2 separate regions of the Homo sapiens genome follow, and region 2 is linked to region 1. Evidence: promoter capture Hi-C in human tissues and cell types (Jung and others, 2019). All regions are on one chromosome and are shown on one strand. The core of a region is centred on a gene start or on the middle of the fragment in contact, and the rest is flanking DNA. Distances in the headings are between cores, read along the strand shown.

Region 1 (6,062 bases), core at 1,874-4,373:
GTGTTTAATGGTCACCAGACCTCCACTCCCAGCTTTTCAGAGGATGCCTGAACAAAAAGTGTTTCTACTTCTGAGCTCTGTTCCTGAGAGAGGATCAGCAGGAAGTGGGGGAGGCACAGATGTGAGAGTGGCTTATCAGGAACGTTGTAAAGCAGCAGCCTGAGTGAGGTTAGGATTCAGAGGCAGGACACCTGGGTTTCAGTAATATTTCTGCTACCTACCAATCTCTTTTGAGCCTTGTTTCCTTATTTCTAAAACAGAGATGCTAATAACCTGCTTAAAGTGTTGAATAGATGAAGGGAGATGACATCGGTAGAATGTTGGCTCCATAAAGGGAGAGAGAATCACTTTGTCTTTTTTTTTTTTGAGACAGAGTTTTGCTCTTGTTGCACAAGTTGGAGTGCAATGGCGCGATCTCGGCTCACGGCAACCTCCGCCTCCCAGGTTCAAGCGATTCTCCTGCCTCAGCCTCCTGAGTAGCTGGGATTACAGGCATGCGCCACCACACCCGGCTGATTTTGTATTTTTAGTAGAGACGGGGTTTCTCCATGTTGGTCAGGCTGGTCTCGAACTCCCGACCTCAGGAGATCCACCTGCCTGGGCCTCCCAAAGTGCTGGGATTACAGGCGTGAGCCACTGCACCCCGCTGATAATCACTTTCTTATATCCCTGTCTCTGGTCCATAATAGGCGCTTGATATTTGACACATTTCACTATTTGACACATTAGCTATTACTTATTACTCAGAAGATTACATCCAACTGCTTGCAGAAAAAGCAAAAAGTGTTGCAAGGAATTCTTTCATTTTAGTGCAAATTTCTCCCTCTTTATCTTGGTCTCAATAACTTCCCAAGACTCAAGGACTGGCTTCAGGCTGACGGAGCTGAGCTCCCTTCCGGCATCCCAGGCCATTCCCACCTTATCGAAGTTCAACCTTTGCCTACCCTTTTGTCTAGTCTAGGTTCAGAATATCTTGTTTTCTTCATCAGCTGGGAATTCCTCATGGCAGATTTGAGTTTGCTCCTCTTTCTCTACTTCCTCAGGGTTCAGGCCAGAAGAACCTGAGAGACTGGTTCTGTCTTTGGGAAGTATTTGACTCTGAGTCTAATGTGACAGCTTTTCAATTTAGTGTTCTTACCATATTGAGTTTCATCAAGAACATCAACCCTCTCATTTTACAGGTGCAAGATCTGAAGCCCAGAGCAGGACATTATTTAGCCAAGGTTTGGAGTCTATGCTTACAAAGGAGTGAAAGCCCAAAGCAAGGTTTTAGTGTTGACGAGAGGCTAGATGAAGACAGAAGATGCAAGAGTGAAATACAATCAATTGTATGTCTTTTATTTTTATGTATTTATTTTTATTTTTTGAGACAGAGTCTCCCTCTGCTTGAGTGTGGTGTGGTGTGATCACTGCTCACTGCAGTCTTGATCTCCTGGGCTCAAGCAGTCCTCCCACCTTGGCCTCCCAAAGTGCTGGGATTACAGGAGTGAGCCACTGTGCCTGGCTGGTATGTCTTTTTAAAATTACTATCATTCATGAGTGTTTTGTCTTTTAGGGTTTTTTTTTTTTTCAACCACAGTGTGGCCTTCTCTCCAGTACCTCCTGCTCGCCCACACTGTTTCGAGCTAGACCTTCCCATAGGCCCTGCTCTCGGGTCTACCAGATTTGTAAGTCTTCAGAGAGGCTGAAACTAGGATCAAGGTGAAGTTAGGGTAAGTGAAGTAACGAAGTCTGGCTACACGAACTCTTTCCCTTTTCCTCCTCTCTTTCACATGACCTCAAATGATAGAAAATAACCTCCCTTCCATTGTGGTCTCTTAAAGTCAGGAGCTACATCTACATTCCATCAGTTTTCTGCTGATAAATCAACTCGGGAGAGCTGGTTGCCTTTAAGCCTTCCCAGGGCTCAAAGCAGTGCTCCACTTTTAGAAGATAATAGGGATATTTCAGTTGGTAAGCAGAGCTGTTCATCCAAATGCTTCTAAGTCCATCAGCTCTTAGAAAACCAAAACTTCTCCGTTGTAGAAGGCAGGTTGGGCTTAATAAAGAGAGAGAGAAAAAAAGGAAAACCGAAACTCTATCTCAGGTCCTTCTTGTCTTTCTTCCCTCGCTCTTTCTTCTGGCTGACATGTCTTCCCAAACCGCCTTGTCTACTAGAGGGTTGGTAGGTGGAGAGCAGAGGCTCAGGTTAGAAGCAAAGAAAATATTCTGTACAGGTAGAAACAAAAATGCCATCAAAATGTGTAGAGAATGTCCCCACAATTTAGATTGCCAAGCAAGTAATAGATGGGCAGCCCACCTAAGTGCCAGTGCTGGAGCAGGGCTACCTGACACTAACCAAGGACACACTCTGAACACAGATGTGGTTCATCACCCTGGGAGGTGTACTCCCCAACGCCAAAGGGAGGGTAGAAGAAGCAGATTTGGGCTCCTGCTTACGTCAGCTGAAACACCACCCAGAGGCCAGGCAGGGTCAGGTAGGGGGAGAACTATGCAGGATTATTCTAAGCCTTTGGTGGGGGGTGCCTGCTGGCATCCGCTGCATCGCTGTTTTTGGGGAAATTGCCCTCTATGGAAAATTACCCTCCAATTTCATCATCTGTAAAATACCAATTTTGGATTGCTAGCACAAAATTTGATACAAAGGTGGCCACCACCATCACTTCCTTTCTTTCACCTTTTCTGGGTCAGCCTGAGGGTTGTCGAAGGTTCTGCCCAGAGACTGTTGTCTCCCCAGCTTCCCTTATCCTTGCCCAAGATCGGGTGGCGGTCTCCGACCTCTCTCCAATCTGCCAGTTTTCATGGAAGCCCACTCCTCGCTCCCGTTTCCCTGGGAGAGCGGGAGACCCTTCTCGTCAGCCCAGACCCTTCGGGGCCCCTGAGCACCCTGCCCGCCCCTCCTGCCCGGCCGGGCTCGGCCTCGGCCTCGGCTCCCTGTGGGCCAGACAGACAGCGAGGCCCGGCCACCTACCTTCTCCTGGGCCCTGCTAAACTTCTTCTGCACCTGCTTGGCGAAGAGGCCGGCCGCGCCGCCTGCCTTGCCCTCTGCCATCCTGCCAACTCCCTGGGGGCCGCCGCCCTGGCCCCGCGCCCTGTGGTTTTCTGAGGCCCCCGAGGAGGAAGTGCGGGCTCCCGGCATGCCTCGCATCCGGCCCCAGCCCTGAGCCACCTCAGGCCGCCCCTGGCCAGCCCTGAGGCCCGCCCCTCAGCCCACCACTGTCAGCTGGAGCAGGCCGGCTCGGAGGGGCGGGCCCGGGGCCTACCCTCAGGCAGCGCTCGCTCGAGGCCAGCTTCCGAGCTCCAACCCCTGCCCGAAACCTCGGCCTCACTGAACCAGGTCCTCAGTGGTGGGCCCACACTCACTCGCTCCGGAAAGCCAGTTCCCATCACGCTGAGCACTGCAAAGCAACTGCCACCGCAGGGTAGAAAATGATGTGGGTTCCACTCAGCGAGAGGACCTACCATATCGAAAACACGTTTAGGTTCTCTGAGTATGCATGCGAAGCCGCCATGTACACTGCGTTTCTTGCTCCAGGTAGGCTCTAAGCCTGGAACTGGTAGGGATAGAGTGCAGAAAGCAGGCAGGACACCCGAGCCGGGCTTGAAAGAGAGAAACAGGCCGGGCGCGGTGGCTCACGCCTGTAATCCTAGCACTTTGGGAGGCCGAGGCGGGTGGATCGCCTGAGGTTAGGAGATCAGCCTGACCAATACGGTGAAACCGCGTCGCTACTAAAAATACAAAAATTAGCTGGGTGTGGTGGCGCACGCCTGCAGTCCCAGCTACTCGAGAGGATGACGCAGGAGAATTGTTTGAACCCGGGAGGCAGAGGTTGCAGTGAGCCGAAATCGCGCCACTGCATTCCAGCCTGGGCGACAGAGCGACAGTTCGTCTCAAATAAATAAATAAATAAATAAATAAATAAATAAATAAATGAGGAACAACTAAGCTGGAGATAGAAACAGGGTAGGGGGCTGGTTCTTAGGCAAGAGAATGATCACATTGAAAAAAGGCTGAGGAGGATAGTATGGACGCCCGTGCTGAGCATGAGGAGCAAGTTTTTCTAGTTGGAGTACAGTGTACTGGATGGAGGCAGAATGTGAACACAGACACAGATTGTGCAAATTGGGGTGCGGCTGTTGAGATGACAACTATTGTTTCTTTAGGGAGAAGTTCTCCAAAAAATTCCTCCCTGACCTGTTTGAGGGGATAGCTTGAGATTAGGACACTAGGTGTGGAGGAACCACGTACTCAGATTTTACAGTGCAGGTTAAAATTTCCTCAAGGCAGGGAAGAAGGTCAAAATAACACTTCCTAAGGAGTGGAGGGGGAAGATAGGGCCTGACACAAAATTAGAGGCCCTTGTATGCTACTGTGTTCCTCTTCTTTCTCCAAAACAATCATTACTGCACTCAAGGTCAACTGTGTACCAGGCATTGCTGGGTGTTCTGAAACAAGGATGAATAAAATGCAGTCCCTGACCTTAAGATGCTTAATGAAGTCTGGCCGGGCACCACGGCTCACACCTGTAATCCCAACACTTTAGGAGGCTGAGGCAGGCAGATTGCTTGAGCCCAGGAGTTTGAGACTAGCCTGCGCAACATAGCAAGACCTTCTCTCTGCTAAAAATACAAAAATTAATTGGGCGTGGTGGCACACACCTGTAGTCCCAGCTATCAGGGAGGCTGAGGTGGGAGGATCACCCGAGCCAAGGGAGGTGGAGGCTGCAGTGAGCCCTGATGGTGCCACTGCATTCCAGCCTGGGCAAAGCGTGAGGCCCTTTCTCAACCAATAAAGAATAAGTATTAATAAATAAGTACATAAATAAAGATGCTTAAAGTCTGGAAGTGGAGATAGGTGGGTAATCAGGTGATTCTAATGTAATGTGCTTAATTTATTTGTAGAGATGGATACAAAATTTTCTGGGAATAGGTGATTAGGGTTTGTTTGTTTGTTTGTTTGTTTGGAGACAGGGTCTTGCTTTGTTGCCAGGCTGGAGTGCAGCAGTGCCATCAGGGCTCACTGCAGCCTCTACCTCCCAGGCCCAAGTGATGGTCTCACCTCAGCCTCCTGAGTAGCTGGGACTAAGGTGCGTGCATGCCACCACTCCTGGCTACCCAGGCTGATCTGGAACTCTTGAGCTCAAGCAATCCACCCGCCTCAGCCTCCCAAAGGGCTGGGATTACAGGTGTGAACCACCTTGCCCTGCCAGGCGATTAGGGTTTATTCTGGATGTTAGCTTTGGTGATGCCCTGGAAGAGGCAGGGTGATGAAAATAGAAGGACTTGATATTGGATGGGGAGAAGTGGGGAGAAGCATGGAGAATAGCAGTACTGCGGGAACACTGAGAGTAGATGGCAATGCTAACAGGTGTGTCACTGGCAGAAGGAGGCCAGTACCTGTGTCCCTGCCAGGACTACATGGCATCCTCAGCAATGCAACCCAGCCACTGTCTCCTAAGAAACTCTGTTTAGTGCCAATATCTTGCAAACTGAAATTGATGGTCACCAAATCATGTAGTGTTAGAGAAGAAACAACCCTTAGAAGTTAATTAGATAGGGAAATTGAGTCACAGAAAGGGCTGATGACTTGACCACAGCCACCCAGCTCCTCAGTGGTGGAACTGGGATGGGAACAGACTCAGCCTCTTATAGCACATGGAGTGTTCTAGAGGCCTCTGCTGAGCCTGTCAATTCCAGGGTCTGTCTCAGCCAGTTTCTCCTTCTGTAATGTTTAATACCCTAGTCCCTCTTGTCTGGTCTTAAGTGATTGACATGAAAAGCTGCTTCTCATCCTTTTTAGCCTTCCCCTTTCAGTTCCCCCTTTGCTTTCTCATAGGCCACTCTAACAGACTGAGCCCTGGCCAGGATACAGCAGAATTATCAGTTTCCCAGTTCTCTGTGGTTTATAGAACCCTGGATCCGGTTGCCTAATTTTAGTCCCAGCCTTAAAGTGCTGATTCACACTTAGCTTGAGGCCCTATGTTGTTGTTGCCTCTTCCTTTCTGTTCTGCCTCTTCCCCTCAACCCTTTCGTTTCTTTGTTTAGTATCTTCTCTTCTCTCC
Region 2 (6,062 bases), core at 3,153-5,652, 78 kb before region 1:
GGACCATGTGGGATTCATACATGGACTGGCACCCTGTCCCTGTTTTGGGAATGTGAGTAGGACAGTGGTTCTCTACCCTCAAAATGACTGTTGGTCTGGTCTGTTCATGTTCAGAAGGTAGCCATAGGCTTCATCTTAGAGCTGGAACCCTTTGAATGAGTGGTAGGCTCCCTTTCCTGTTTGTATCTTTGGGTTCACATAAAGTATAGACCTACTTTAGAACTCAAATTGGTGGCGGAACTAGCTCCTTAAAACGCAGCTGGTTAGCACATTGCCTCATCCTAACAGGCCTCTGCTTCCCCTATGTCCCCTTCGCTTATATTAGCTGCCCTGTGCCCATTCTATCATGTCATTTCCTTTCAGCCTCCACCTCCTGGATGCCCTCCCAATGCTGCTCAGCTTGCAGTCATGCAGGGAGCCAACGTCCTCGTAACTCAGCGGAAGGGGAACTTCTTCATGGGTGGTTCAGATGGTGGCTACACCATCTGGTGAGGAACCAAGGCCACCTCTGTGCCGGGAAAGACATCACATACCTTCAGCACTTCTCACAATGTAACTGCTTTAGTCATATTAACCTGAAGTTGCAGTTTAGACACATGTTGTTGGGGTGTCTTTCTGGTGCCCAAACTTTCAGGCACTTTTCAAATTTAATAAGGAACCATGTAATGGTAGCAGTACCTCCCTAAAGCATTTTGAGGTAGGGGAGGTATCCATTCATAAAATGAATGTGGGTGAAGCCGCCCTAAGGATTTTCCTTTAATTTCTCTGGAGTAATACTGTACCATACTGGTCTTTGCTTTTAGTAATAAAACATCAAATTAGGTTTGGAGGGAACTTTGATCTTCCTAAGAATTAAAGTTGCCAAATTATTCTGATTGGTCTTTAATCTCCTTTAAGTCTTTGATATATATTACTTGTTATAAATGGAACGCATTAGTTGTCTGCCTTTTCCTTTCCATCCCTTGCCCCACCCATCCCATCTCCAACCCTAGTCTTCCATTTCCTCCCGCCAGTCTCCATTGAATCAATGGTGCAGGACAGAAAGCCAGTCAGACTAATTTCCTTCTTTCCTCGCACTTCTCCCCACTCGTCATCTTTTAACTAGTGTTTCACAAGGATCCTCTGAAACCCTCTCTGTGCCCCAAGTACAGATGCCATTACTTCTGCTTTCGTATCTCCTCAGGCAAAAGTGGAGGGTGCCTTATGGGCCCTCCTCATAGGTTGTCTCTGCATACACGAACCTAACCCAAATTTGCTTTGGTGCCAGAAAAACTGAGCTATGTTTGAACAAAGATGTCGTGCAAACTGTACTGTGAACAACAGTTGGTTTAAAATATGAGGGGCAAGGAGGAGGATGCATTTCAAAAGCTTGATTGATGTGTTCAGAGCTAAATTAAGAGGAGTTTTCAGATCAAAAACTGGTTACCATTTTTTGTCAGAGTGTCTGATGCGGCCACTCATTCGGCTCCCCAGAATTCCTAGACTGGGTTAATAGGGTCATATTGTGAATGTCTCACTACAAAATGACTTGAGTCCAGTGAAATCTCATTAGGGTTTAAGAATATTTCAGGGATCCTTAATGTTTTGATTTTTGTTTTCTGAAATTGGATTTTATTTTATTTTATCTTATAATTTCAGTTCATCTAAATTGTGTGTTCTGTACATGTGATGTTTGACTGTACCATTGACTGTTATGGAAGTTCAGCGTTGTATGTCTCTCTCTACACTGTGGTGCACTTAACTTGTGGAATTTTTATACTAAAAATGTAGAATAAAGACTATTTTGAAGATTTGAATAAAGTGATGAAGTTGCATTACACCTCACTGCAAGGATTCTTTACTTAGCTTGTTTTTAGATTTCTTCTATATATATTTTATTTATATCCCATCTAGAATTCAGCTAGGTGCTGCTGCTGCTCTGTTTCCTTTGATGACGCTTTGAAATAAAGGCAGGAGTACAAGCCTAAGACTTGATCATTTCATGAATTCCATTCCAGATGTTCAACTTTTCATCATTTTACTCCAACCTCTTACAAATTTTGGAATTTCGGACCTAAACTTAGAAATGAGGGAACTATTGATTCTCCTAACTTGCTCTAAAGTTTGGCTTGAAGAAAAGGTTCTGGTATAGCAATTTGTATACGTTGAGGATGACCTTTAGTTTCTCCAATGTTCTATGTGGAGAAATACTGAAAACTCATAGAATCTAGGTTGCCAAGATAGATTCCTCAGCTCTTTTATTTATTTTTTGAGACAGGGTCTCCCTCTGTCACCCGGGCTGGAGTGCAGTGGCAGTGTCTGCTCACTGCAACCTCCACCTCCCGGGTTCAAGTGATTCTCCTGTCTCAGCCTCCTGAGTAGCTGGGATTACAGGCACCTGCTACAACACCTGGTTCATTTCTGTACTTTTAGTAGAGACGGCTTCACTGCGTTGGCCACGCTGGTCTCAAACTCCTGACCTCAAGTGATCTGTCTGCCTCAGCCTCCCAAAGTATTGGGATAACAGGCAGTGAGTCACTGCACCCAGCCAGATTCCTCAGCTCTTGATCTTAACTTGGTTGGGTTTGAGCTTGGACAACAGAGGCAATACATTAAGACTTCAAAGGAGATCTAGCTTTAATTCCAAAGTGAACAATATCTGATGAGCTAATAATTTATACCAAAATGTGCCTTTTAAACACAACTTATCTTGAGACTAAAATCCAAGAAGCTTCTTGGCTTGATTCTGAGGATACACTGGGAAAGGTGGTAGGTTGATTTTTTCTGGTTCCTTCTGTATATATGTAGAAGGGATTCTGGGAAATTCTGGCCCTTGCCAGGATGGAGGCTTGAACCAACTCATCTCCCAGGGTACTTTTTTTTTTTTTTTTTTTTTTGAGACGGAGTCTCACTCTGTTGCCCAGGCTGGAGTATAGTGGTGCAATCTCAGCTCACTGCAAGCTCCGCCTCCTGGGTTCAAGCCATTCTCCTGCCTCAGCCTCCCAAGCAGCTGGGACTATGGGCGCCCGCCACCACGCCCAGCTATTTTTTTTATATATTTTTAGTAGAGACGGGGTTTCACCGTGTTAGCCAGGATGGTCTCGATCTCCTAACCTTGTGATCCGCCTGCCTCGGCCTCCCAAAGTGCTGGGATCACAGGCGTGAGCCACCGAACCCGGCCCTCCCAGGGTATGTTTCTAATGATGTTCCCCTGGAACAAGCTTTCCTGCACCATCTTTGTCTCAAATCCCTGAGATAGTTCTGCAAACTTCTAGAACTTTCCTAGGGTTCTTATTGCTTGGAAGAGAACATATGTAAAGGCGTTAAATAGGGAAAAGAAAATGTCAAAAATGTTTAAGCAAAAATAAGTCAAAATGTAGTTACTTCTTGCACATGAGAATCTGATTTCTGTAGCAATGAAAATTTTTAATTTGAATAAAAATCACGTAAGCATGAGGTTGTTGGGGAACACGGAAAGGAAGGGCTCAGATTAGGGGGTGTAGCACATTTATCAGGAGGTAAGATCTCCATAGTCTCCTACCCCTCCTGGCCTGGCCTTTTACTGTGGTATCCAGCCTCTGGGAAGACCTTGTATGGACAGTATCTCCACTGGGGCTATCACTAGGTGACCAGGTAGGGGACAGAGTAGAGCAGCCAATGACCTTAACTCAAAATCTTTTCTCTCCCTTCAACCTGTGAAAAAAGATGACTGGGCACATACTCAGATGTCCCCTGGCATAGCCACATCTTGTTGGCCAGTCACAAACACCAGCTCTAGTAAGAGGGCCTGGTTAAAGATATCATAAACAGCTTTCTCCATGTCCCTGGTCCCTGGAGTCAGTGATGTCGGCATTTGGGACTGCGACCTGGCTGGAGCTTGGATTTGCCCACATCAATCAATGCTTCTCCCTGGCTTCAGAGAAAACTTTCCCATAATAAGCAGTCAACGTGTTAGCGATGGAGCCAGGAATAAGCTCCTTGGGGCCTGGGAGTCATTAGATGAAATATTCCTCTTTCTCGCTGCCCTTGGCCAAGTCACTCTCCATCTGGACGATGGCACTGGGCTCACCTTCTGTAGGTTCATAGGTGACGTAGCTGCCTTTGTTCTTGTACAGGTAAAAGAAGATCAAGATCACGACCGAGAGCAGGGTGAGGAAGACAACGGTGATAACAACTTGGAAAGGAGAGGGAAAATGTAGAGATGTTTCAGGATTGAGGATGTCTCAGTAGTTCCTGGAGTCATCTGATTTAGTCACTGTTTTCGTAAAGATCCTCTTGTTTTCATTAACTAGTGTCCACTTCCATCCAAACCCATGTTCCCCCACCAACCCCAATTTCCATGGCACATAATAGCTGGAGTCTCCTGGTGCTTAAGCTAAGGACACATGCTTTTGATTTCTGACAAAACTGAACTGCCTCCCAAACCAGTTCCTGATTCTTAAAGAAACGGGAAGGAGGGAACAGGAAATGGCTTATCCTAACAGGAAGTGGTTTATCTGATCCTCCCCCTCTTCCTCACCCACTCAACCAACCACATATATCCTCGTCCCTACCCACGTACTCAAGTGTAACGTCCGTATGCATATCTATTTGCGGCCACCTCCCAACCTGTCATTTACTGGTAGTGCCTCTGACAGAAGCCTCCGAGTCTTTTATGGCTGTGTGTGTGTGTGTGTGTGTGTGTGTGTGTGTGTAATATAACTTACAAGCCAGAGTGAGCCCATTAATGGATTTGGTCAGGCTCCCTCTGGAGAGAGATGCCCTTGATCCAGAAGGTCCCTTGGAGTTGGCTCAGAGTCTATTACCTGCAATGAGTGCTGTGCTGGCTCCATCTTCTGGGGACAGGGCCTCAGTGGGCTGTAAAATTGGGGTGGTCATCAGTTCTTCTGGAAAATGTAGAAAAGTGGAAAAGGAAATGGAGTGAATTCTTTTGTTTGAAAGCATATGTTTGGCCTTCAAATTTCACCACCCCACCTTCTTCCCTATTCAAAAGTTTATCATTTAACTCCTAGAGTATATCCAAATAGAAAATCCTAGAGAATAAAGAAGAAAATAAACCACCACCCAAAGACAATATGTTGATGGATTTCTCCCTGCATAATATAGTGATTAAGAGTAGGGGCTATAGAGCCTGACAGACTGGGTTTCAAATATGAACTCTGTCCTTTACTAGCTGTGTGACCTTGGGAAAATTACCTAACCTCTATCTGCAAAATGGAGGTAAGAGTACCTACTTTAAAACGTTGTTGTGACATTTAATAAGTCACTCAGTAGGATAAGCCATTATTAGGAATGCATATTTTTACAATAAGTGAGATCAAATGAGTTGTATGTGTATATATTTACATTATATTATATAGCATGTGCATTTTCTTGCAGCATTCTTACTAATTCTTTGTAAACATTATTTTAACATAATGAAATAGTGCTCCTCTCCTATTAAAAACCCTTTTCTACACTTCCAGGATAGGCCCTGCAATTTGAAAGGTTCTGAAACAGGCCTCTCCTCTACCCTAAAATAGATCCTGCACCCCCTCCTGCTACGGGTTTATTTATCCTTCAGAGCGTGAAAGTCCCACCCTAAAGTCATTACCCAGGGACAGAACATGACAAAATGAGTGGTCTCCAGAAGTCCCTTTTAAGTGTTTACACAGGAAGTCAGGAAGCCCTTCCATTCTTTCCTATTAGCATTTTAATGTAGAGGTTACTGCAGGATAGAGGTCTCCTGGGGAAAACCAGCTGGCTGATCCTGGCAACACCCACAGGAGGCACCCCGACCTGACTGGCATCCCATAAACAGCAACACTCACCCACTGCCTCCTCTTTGCTAGGCCCTGTGCTAGATGAAAGGTCGAGCAAAACAGACACGGCCAGCTTCCCGAGGCTCACCCTCCACTGCACCCCACAGCTTGCACGGTGAGGAGCTGCTGTAAGTGCACTTAGGAAAGTGTGCAGCCGAGGGGCCTGATCTAGTCTTCCAGCCAGAAGCGACCCCCCAAGGGAGGAATATCTGACCTGGGAGCTGAAGCAGGGGTAAGAGTTTACCGGGTAACAGGGATGGGGCACATTCTAGGCAGAGAGAA

The links. The method cuts DNA at HindIII sites, captures the fragments that hold promoters and counts their contacts. A contact is called where the count stands out against the background at its distance.
Region 2: a contact is called between a fragment that was not itself captured here and the fragment with the promoter of BIN2 in region 1, in 6 of the 25 tissues and cell types used here (aorta, hippocampus, lymphoblastoid cells and 3 more).

The regions. Positions count from the first base shown.
Region 1 is chr12:51,321,051-51,327,112 of GRCh38, forward strand. BIN2 (bridging integrator 2) reads right to left here and starts at 3,124. Exons shown (of 13, transcript NM_016293.4): 1 at 2,972-3,124. The coding sequence starts at 3,052. It overlaps LOC105369767 (a long non-coding RNA gene), which reads right to left and starts at 2,958. Exons shown (of 2, transcript XR_944957.3): 1 at 2,678-2,958; 2 at 1,318-2,153. RefSeq lists an enhancer at 2,650-2,839 and silencers at 2,870-3,359, 6,055-6,062. The HindIII fragment of the contact is 13,760 bases long and covers 1-6,062 here.
Region 2 is chr12:51,241,967-51,248,028 of GRCh38, forward strand. SMAGP (small cell adhesion glycoprotein) reads right to left here. Exons shown (of 4, transcript NM_001031628.2): 3 at 4,785-4,865; 4 at 2,592-4,153. The coding sequence ends at 3,975. DAZAP2 (DAZ associated protein 2) reads left to right here. Exons shown (of 4, transcript NM_014764.4): 4 at 364-1,967. The coding sequence ends at 492. Among named protein-coding and RNA genes, the nearest start is that of DAZAP2, 6.2 kb to the left of the region's middle. RefSeq lists enhancers at 5,483-5,984, 5,985-6,062. The HindIII fragment of the contact is 4,727 bases long and covers 2,040-6,062 here.